Regions from separate parts of the Homo sapiens genome. Here region 2 is linked to region 1. The links are contacts of gene promoters, found by promoter capture Hi-C in blood cells and fetal thymus (Javierre and others, 2016). All regions are on one chromosome and are shown on one strand. Each heading gives the region's core, a stretch centred on a gene start or on the middle of the fragment in contact. The rest is flanking DNA. Distances are from core to core; before and after follow the strand shown.

What was found. The method cuts DNA at HindIII sites, captures the fragments that hold promoters and counts their contacts. A CHiCAGO score of 5 or more calls a contact.
Region 2: a contact is called between a fragment that was not itself captured here and the fragment with the promoter of GLI4 in region 1, in 2 of 17 cell types (fetal thymus and naive CD8 T cells). The highest score is 7.6, in fetal thymus.

The regions. Positions count from the first base shown.
Region 1 is chr8:143,265,403-143,269,574 of GRCh38, forward strand. GLI4 (GLI family zinc finger 4) reads left to right here and starts at 2,043. Exons shown (of 4, transcript NM_138465.4): 1 at 2,043-2,082; 2 at 3,958-4,118. The coding sequence starts at 3,995. RefSeq lists silencers at 1,509-2,218, 2,379-2,498 and an enhancer at 3,059-3,881. The HindIII fragment of the contact is 18,516 bases long and covers 286-4,172 here.
Region 2 is chr8:143,529,939-143,534,110 of GRCh38, forward strand. All of the region lies in intron 3 of ZC3H3 (zinc finger CCCH-type containing 3), which reads right to left. Among named protein-coding and RNA genes, the nearest start is that of ZC3H3, 9.4 kb to the right of the region's middle. The HindIII fragment of the contact is 509 bases long and covers 2,013-2,521 here.

The sequences.
Region 1 (4,172 bases), core at 793-3,292:
TACTAAAAATACAAAATTATCCGGGCATGGTGGCGCATGCCTGTGATCCCAGCTACTTGGGAGGCTGAGGCAGGAGAATCACTTAAACCTGGGAGGCGGAGATTGCAGTGAGCCGAGATCGCACCAATTGCACTCCAGCCTGGGCAACAAGAGCGGCAACTCCATCTCAAAAGTAAATAAAGAACAAAAGGGGTTTGCTTGGCTCACAGTTCAGATCAGCGTTCAGAGGGTGCTGCTGTCCCTGGTCATACTGTACAAGAAGAGGCTTCTGGGGAGGGCTCAGGAAGCTTTTACTCACAGCAGAAGGCAAAGTGGGAGCCAGGGCATCCGTCACTTGGTAAGAGCCAGAGCAAGAGAGGGGCGGAGGCGCCAGGCTCTTTTTAACAGCCAGCTCTCACTCATCACCAAGGAGAGGGCACCAAGCTACTCATGACCCAAATAGCCTCCCACCAGGTCCCACCGCCACCATCAGGGGCCACATTTCCATGAGATGTGCAGGGGGCTCACTTCCAAACAGTATCAGATATAGTACTAGTTCCTTTTTTTTTTTTTTTTTTTTGAGACAGAGTCTCATTCTGTTGCCCAGGCTGGAGTGAAGTGGCGCGATCTCGGCGCAATGCAACCTCCGCCTCCCGGTTCAAGTGATTCTCCTGCCTCAGCCTCCCAAGTAGCTGGGATTACAGGTGCCCGCCACCGTGTCCGGGTAGCTTTTTTATATTTTTAGTAGAGATGGGGTTTCTCCCTGTTGGTCAGGCTGGTCTCAAACTCCCCACCTCTGGTGATCCACCCACTTCAGTGTCCCAAAGTGCTGGGATTACAGGCGTGAGCCACTGCGCCCGGCGCTACTTATAACTTTTTAAGAAACTACCAAGCCAATTTCTAGAATGGCAGCACCACTTTGCCTTACCACTGGCGATGTCCCAAGCTGCTCCGCGACCTCAGTGATGCTTGGCACTTGTTAGCAGTTTTTACCTGAGCCACCTGGCAAGTGTGCAGTGGCACCCACCGCGATGCTGGCCGGCCCTTCCCTGACAGCCATCCCTTCCCGAGCCTATTGCCATCCCTGTGCCCTCTTCGGTCAAACGTCTGTTGCGGCTCTTGCCAATTTTCTAACTGGAATGTTTGTTTTCTTGCGGTAGAGTTTAGAGATTTTTACATATTATCAGCCTGGGGGCTCCTCCACCCACACAGCCCTGAGCGTCCACCCTGGCAGCTGTTGCCCGTCTGCAGGCCCCCCCGCCCTCTGCTCCGCGTGCCCCTCCAGCTCAGGGGTCCCCTCGCCTCGGCTCTCTGCACCCCTGCTCAAAACGGTCAAAGAACCCTCCCCGGCCGTTTATTTTTCCCAGAAAGTGACAATTTTCTCTTTTCAGGTCGTAAGCACAGAACTGAGGGAGAAACTGTGGCTGAACAAGAGGAAAATGAGGAAGGAGTCCATGAAGGGGCTTTGGGGAACCTGTAACATCCTCCTCAGGCTCCCGGGGACGCCCCTGGAAAGCAGGCAGAATCGAGGGCGCTGGGGCCCCCGCGAGGGGAGCGGGAGGTCGCGCGTCTCGCAGCGGTTCCCGGCCGCCGGTGACCATCGCTGCGGACACATCCCGAGGAGGGAACCCAAGAGGGCGGCGGGGGGGACTCGCGAGCTGAACGTGGAAGCAACTCCAGCCGAGGACCCCCGGAGGCCTGGAGTGCACGGAGGGGCCGCGGGCAGCGTGGGGACGGCGCCGTCATCTCCCGAAGCCCGGCCCCGCGCTGGCTCCCCGGGCGGTGCAGGGCCGGCGTCGGGAAGGAGGCTCCGAGGCGCCGGCTTCTGCGCCCCACGCAGCGCCGCTCCCCGCGCCCGGGCGCTTTGCAGGCGCGGGCGGGATCCGGGCCAGCGTGTACGCGAAAGCCACGCGCGGGCGCAGCCCACGAGGGGAGGGGCGGGGAAAGGCCTCCTCTTCGCTCCCGGCCCCGCCCCCACACGGCCACCGAGGCGTGCGGTCCTCCCGGGGCCCAGAGCGTCCCGGAAGTGCGCGCCGGCCGGGCGGAGTGGGGCGGGGCCGGACACTTCCGTCCGGCGCGCGGCGTCCTCCTCCCGCTCGGAAGGTGAGTGGGCGCGGGCGGCGGCGGCGGCTCCGGGTGCCTGGGACCAGCCCAGTCCGAGCTCGTGCGCCGTACTCCGCGGTGCAGCCCTGCCCAGCCGGGCCGTGCGGCCCTTGCAGCCGCCGCTCGCCGTGACCTTGGCCTTGGGCCAAGCCCGGGGAGCGGGGTGGGCTCCTGGGGGTCGCGGAGCAGCAGCGGACCGCCCCGCCCAGCGGCCCTGGCGATAGCGGGTGTCCGTTCGCAGGGCGCCTTTCCCAGGCACCCAGTGACGGCAGCTGTCGTCATCGCCACTCTGCAGATGGGAAACTGAGGCCCGGAGGTCCCGCCGCTCCGGAGCGAGGAGCCGCCGGACCCCAGCGCCGCACCGCCGGGCGGACGCGCTCTGTGCCGAGCTCCCGGCGATTGGGTCCGCTCCCACGGGGCTGGGAACAGAGGGGCAGAGGATGCTTCCCCCGAGCCGCTGGCAGGAGTGCCCTTCCCCCTTCAGTCTGGAGCTCAGAGTTTGTGCGTCCCTGGGGGTGAAGGGGCGTCCACGCTGTGATGGTCGCCTCTGCTCAGTCCTGGGGGCCAAGCCAGGGTCGGGGTGATCGAGCAGGCCCTTTTACCAGGTGTCCCCAGTAAGTTAACTAAGTAACTTGAGATGTGACTTCAGGGTGGAGGACCTGCACCCAGTGGCCACCTACCTGGTGACCTGACCCTTCCCATCATTAGGGGATGGAGGCTGGCCCAGAAGCCGGGCACTGGGGTGGCGGCCGTGTGGGAGCTGCCTCTCCCACTTCCTCGAAGCAGGCACTGTCTGCTGTTCTTAGATCTGAGTATCCGTTAACTTTTGTCCTCTTTTCCCGTTCCTTTCTTCACTCCCTGCCCCAGATTAGGAGTTCCTACTCTATCACAGTATGAAAGAAAAGTCACTTTTCACATTGGACTCAAGCCGTTTTTGCAAAGTAAACTAAGAAGTGTCTTGGAGCCCTGAGTGAGTCTCCCAGTGCTGCTGCAGGGCTGGACTAGGGGATTCCAGCCTGCAGTCTCTGAGGGCTCTGTAGGGTCTGAGGAAGAGAGTTGCCCTCTGGAAACGTCTCTTCTCTGCTGTTCGGGAAAAACCTTATTAAGATTTCCTCCAAAACACTCATGCGCAGCAGGCATGGTTCGGTTTTCAGCCCTCCCACAGGGCCAGCAGCTGAGGTTTTTCTGGAAGACTCCCTATGCCTTTCTCTGGGGGAGGGGTGATGCCACGGGCTGGAAGGAGATGCCAGAGCCTCTGCTGGGACAGGAGCTTCGCTTCAGCCCCCACAGGCGTCTGCTGTGCCGCCCAGGCGGTGGCTGCTTCCTAAGCGCGCCTTCCAAGGCGTTACTCCTTTGCTGCTGCTGCTGCTGCTGCTGTTGTTTGAGTCTTGCTGTGTCTCCCAGGCTGGAGTGCAGGGGCGCCATCTCGGCTCACTGCAACCTCCACCTCCTGATTTCAAGCTGTTCTCCTGCCTCAGCTTCCCAAGTAGCTGGGATTACAGGTGCCCGCCACTGCGCCCAGCTAATTTTTATATTTTTAGTAGAGATGGGGTTTCACCATATTAGACAGGCTGGTCTCAAACTCCTGACCTCATGATCTACCCACCTCGGCCTCACAAAGTGCTGGGATTACAGGCATGAGCCACCGTCCCCAGCCACTCAAAGCGTTATTCCTTACTGAATAAATGTGCCAGGTCCCCCAACTGCCTCACCCCAGGCCTATGTGTCTCTGTGGGTTCATCCTCCATCCTTGCTCCTCCTGGAGTGGATAAACCTCCATCTCCCCTTGGAGAGCTGGCATGTTGCCTCCTCCTGCACCATCCCCCCGACATTCCTCCCAATCCCCTCATCTGCCATGGTTTTCATTTTCCCCAGGTCCCAGGTGTGACACCTTCAGCAGGTCTCAGGGAAGATGGCAGCCCTAGGGGACATTCAGGAGTCCCCTTCTGTCCCGTCCCCTGTCAGTCTCTCATCACCGGGGACACCTGGAACCCAGCACCACGAGCCTCAGCTTCACCTCCATGGGCATCAACATGGTACTCACCCAGCCCGCTGTGCGCCCTCCACCCTGCATCCCCTGCCCTCACGTC
Region 2 (4,172 bases), core at 1,017-3,516, 260 kb after region 1:
ACCCACGCCTGCCCTTTCTGCCAGTGAGCTGGGGTGAGTGGAGACTCCACTTCTCATCTGCAAATGCTGACAGCAGTTCCTCCACACCCAGGGGCGGGCACGGCAGACTGAGGGACGGGTAGGAATCGCCCTCCGTGTGTACAGCAAGCTCTGGGCCAGAGGCAGATGCCCGGCCTGGCTCCTGTCAAAGCCTGGGCAGCCGGCAGGCCTCGACCCAGCCTGGTTGTCCACACGAGACCACCACGCAAGCCAGGCCCTTTCTGTCCACCACAGGTGTGCCCAGGACCTGCCAGGCCCGCACCCTCCACCAGCACACTGGCGACAAGTCTGGGAAGGCGGCTGCTTCCCAGGCAGGGCCCTGGGCTTATTCCAGGCCACGGGGGAAGGGGGCAGGCCACCGGCATGCATCCACCATCCTGGGTGGGTGAAGCAGAGAGGGCCCTCCCACTCCAGCAGATGACGACACCACTGCCTACCCACCTACCATGACTTTTCCCTGGCGTAAAATAGCAGACGTTTCCATGTGGCTGGTAGGAATCCCATCACCTCCCGCCACCAAGAAGCTCCCCAGCCTGGGCACAGGGTGGTGGGTGGGAGAGCTGGCCCTCACTCCTGGCCTGGCCTGGAGTGTACAGCCTGGACAGCATCCCTCTGCACAGGCCGGCCAGGCTTAGGGAGTCATGCCTGTCATCTCAGGGTGGCCGAGCACAGCGACGGGCCCCAGGAGGATGTACCACGAAGCTGGCCCCACTTCCCCCGCACCACAGTGAGAGCCTGGCCACAGTGCTCAGCCGTGTGTACTGTAAACACTGTACTCGAGAACACTGATTGCCACAGTTATGTGAGTGGCAAACAGGACACCATTTTTCAGACTCCAAAAAGGTTTTCTTCTCTTCTGCCCAAATGCCCCCTCTAGCATCGGTCCACCAGAGACAGATCAACCCAGGCAGGTCTCTACTGCAGCCTCCAGCAAACATTACTCGCCCAGGCCACCCTTCTGGGGCTGTCTTCTATCTCCTTTTTTTTTTTTTTTTTTTTTGAGACAGGGTCTCATTCTGTCACCCAGGTTGCAGTGCAGTGGTGCGATCATGGCTCACTAGAGCCTCAACCTCCCAGACCTAAGCAATCCTCTCACCCCAGCCTCCCGAGTAGCTGGGACTACAGGCGTGTGCCACCATGCCCGGCTAATTCTCGCATTTTTTGTAGAGATGGGGTTTTGCCACGTTGCCCAGGCTGGTCTTGACCTCCTGGGTTCAAGTAATCACCCGCCTCAGCCTCCCAAAGTGTTGGGATTCCAGGCATGAGCCTCGGCACCCGGCCAGTGTCTCACATCCTCATCCCCCAGCTGCCAACAGACCCATCCCCAGGAGAAAAGGGAAGGAAGAAACGGAAGGCAAGGGGCACACTGACAGCAGAGGAAGAGACCCCCAGGAATCCCCTGCCCCGCCCCCAGCCGAGGTCTGACTCCAGGCCCAGAGGACTTCGGAGGGCCGGGAGAGGCAGGGAGGGGAGGAGAGGCACCGAAGAGTCAGGCTGAAACCTTCCAAACAGTCTCAGTCCCCAGGCGTGAGCGGCCACAGTGCTGCTGAACAATGCACTTTTGAATTCAATTAAAGCGATTATCTGTTGTGCCAAATAAATTGTGTACAGCATATATCCTGTGGCACTTTACACCTCCAGGCTCATTATTCCCTAACTGTTTCCTCCTGTTTATGCCTCTCAAATTAAATTGCTGATAATATGCGCCAAAATAAAAAATGAACGCACCTTGTCCCAAGAAAATTGATTCTCCCTTTTCCTGAACTGGCGATGGCCAGGTTTTATATACTCTGTTCTTGGTGATCATTAGTAATTCAATTTTCTTTTTATTAGCCCCCTTATCTGCTGAGCAATATAGTGGCAGGGCTGACCTCTTTCGCACGGGTAAATGTTTAAAATCTTTTCCCTGATTAATTTTGCCAGTTAAGAAAAAGAGGAGAAATGGCCCGGCTCTTAGCCATCACAATGAATAAAGCTTAATGTTGATTGTGACGGAATTTCTAATGCCAGGGAAATTGATTGAACGCGGCAATTACGCTGCAATAGTAACTCAGGGGAGATGGGATCGCTTTCTCCTGGCCGTAGCCTTTTGGTTATTTAAAATAATCCAATTTGCAAGGATAATTATGTATTAGCGTTTTATCTGCCACTTGAAATGAACAGGGGAGTTTCGATACTGGCCCAGCATTAGCAGGTTATTGCTGCAAATTACTTGGTATCTGCTTTCTTTCACATAAAAAGGAAATTACGCGATTACCAAAAAAGGGTGGACGGAGGCGATAGGAGGGGCAAGCATGCCCTCTGCTGGCCACTGGGCCGCACGGCAAGGCTGAAGTGCGGCGGGGGAGGGAGGCGGCAGCAGGGCTGCCTGGCAGCTTTCAGAAGCCCCTGTCCCTGGTGCATAAGTCCACAGGGCAGTCGTCCCCAGCTGGACACTGGGACACTGCCGTCTCCTTGAAGAGGAGAGGTGGAGCTGGAACTAAGCTTTTGCTGGGCAGAAAATGGGGAAAGAAAACTCCCAACAGCCAAATGAAGGAGCAGTCCCACCTGGCTGCCCCATCCACAGCCCACACGACCCCAGCATCCAGGAACGAACACCCCAGCCGATGGAGGCCTTGGCCACCCGGGAGGGCTGAAGGAGGGCCTGGGAAGGGCTCACTGGCTCACCAGAGCACTGCAGCGTTCAACGAAACAAAGCTGGGCCCTGCCCAGAAGCCCACTGGCCAAGGCAGAGGACAGGCAGGCCTCAGTTCCTAGGCAGGCAGGCAGGCATGGAGACGGTGGGCCTTGCAGGAGGGCACCTGGGGGAGCCACTCAACAGCTTCCTGGGCCCCAGCCTCCCATCTCCTCAGCAGACGCCCTGGCCACGCCCACCTCCCCTGCGGCCAGCTTGGAGTCTCACGGTGGCTGTCTCTGGGGTCAGCCGCCTGAGTGACCAGGCCAGGACGCAGGCTCGGCCTCTCACCTCCGCGCACATCTCCACGGGCTCCCTGCCTGCTTGAGAGCCTGCGGACTCCGCTCCTTGGCCTGGCGTCAGTGGCCTCACGCACAGGTCCTCCCGACTCTGCCCACTCGGGCCTGCCAGACACCCCGGGGCCCTGGACACGCCCCTCCCAGGGTCCTCCCCTGTCCCTCCCTGGCTTCCCAACGTAACCAGAACCAACCCCCCGTTCCCTCCTGTGGCCTACAAGACCCTTTCCCAGGACCTGGTCCCTCTGCCCCGTTGGCTGCATCCCCTCCAAGCCACACTCCCAGATGGTGAACTGGCCCCACAGCCTCCTTGTGCTCCAGAACACAGTAAGCTCGTTCCCACCTCCACCTCGGCCTCAGAGCTGAGCCCTATTCGCTCCTCTCTGCTCAGGTCACCTCCTCAGAGAAGCCCTCCCACTCGCCAACCACCTCTCTGCAGCTGGCCCTGTGCTCTCCCCCTGCCTGTTCCTCAGAAGGCATTTTCCACCCAGGAGCACCTTCCTGGCTGATGTACAAGCACTCCAGTGGCTGCCTGTCTCCACCACTGGAAGGCGGCTCCAGCCTCATCATCTCTTCACCTTCACTGCAGTATCCCCAGGAGCCGGCAGGCTGCCAGGCACAGTGACTCAACCACGCTTGCCAGTTGGGCCAGTGGTGGGCAAGTGAGTGGGACGCCTTCCCCACCCCTTCCTCAGACAGGACCCTCTCCTCTCACTCCATGCAGCCGCCACGCTGGTCTTTTTTTTTTTTTTTTTTTGAGACAAAATGTCACTCTGTCGCCCAGGCTGGAGTACAATGGCACGATCTAACCTCTGCCTCCTGGGTTCAAGTGATTCTCCTGCCTCAGCCTCCCGAGTAGATGGGATTACAGACGCTCGCCACCACACCCAGCTAATTTTTGTATTTTTAGTAGAGACGGGGTTTTGCCATGTTGCCAAGGCTGGTCTTGAACTCCTGACCTCAGGTGATCCACCCGCCTCGGCCTCCCAGTGTGCTGGGATTACAGGCATGAGCCACCACGCCCAGCCTCACGTTGGTCTTTAACTATGAGTTTGGCTGGGCACAGTGGCTCACACCTGTAATCCCAGCACTTTAAGAGACTAAGGCAGGAGGATCACTTGAGCCCAGAAGTTCAAGACCAGCCTAGGCAACAAAGCAAGACC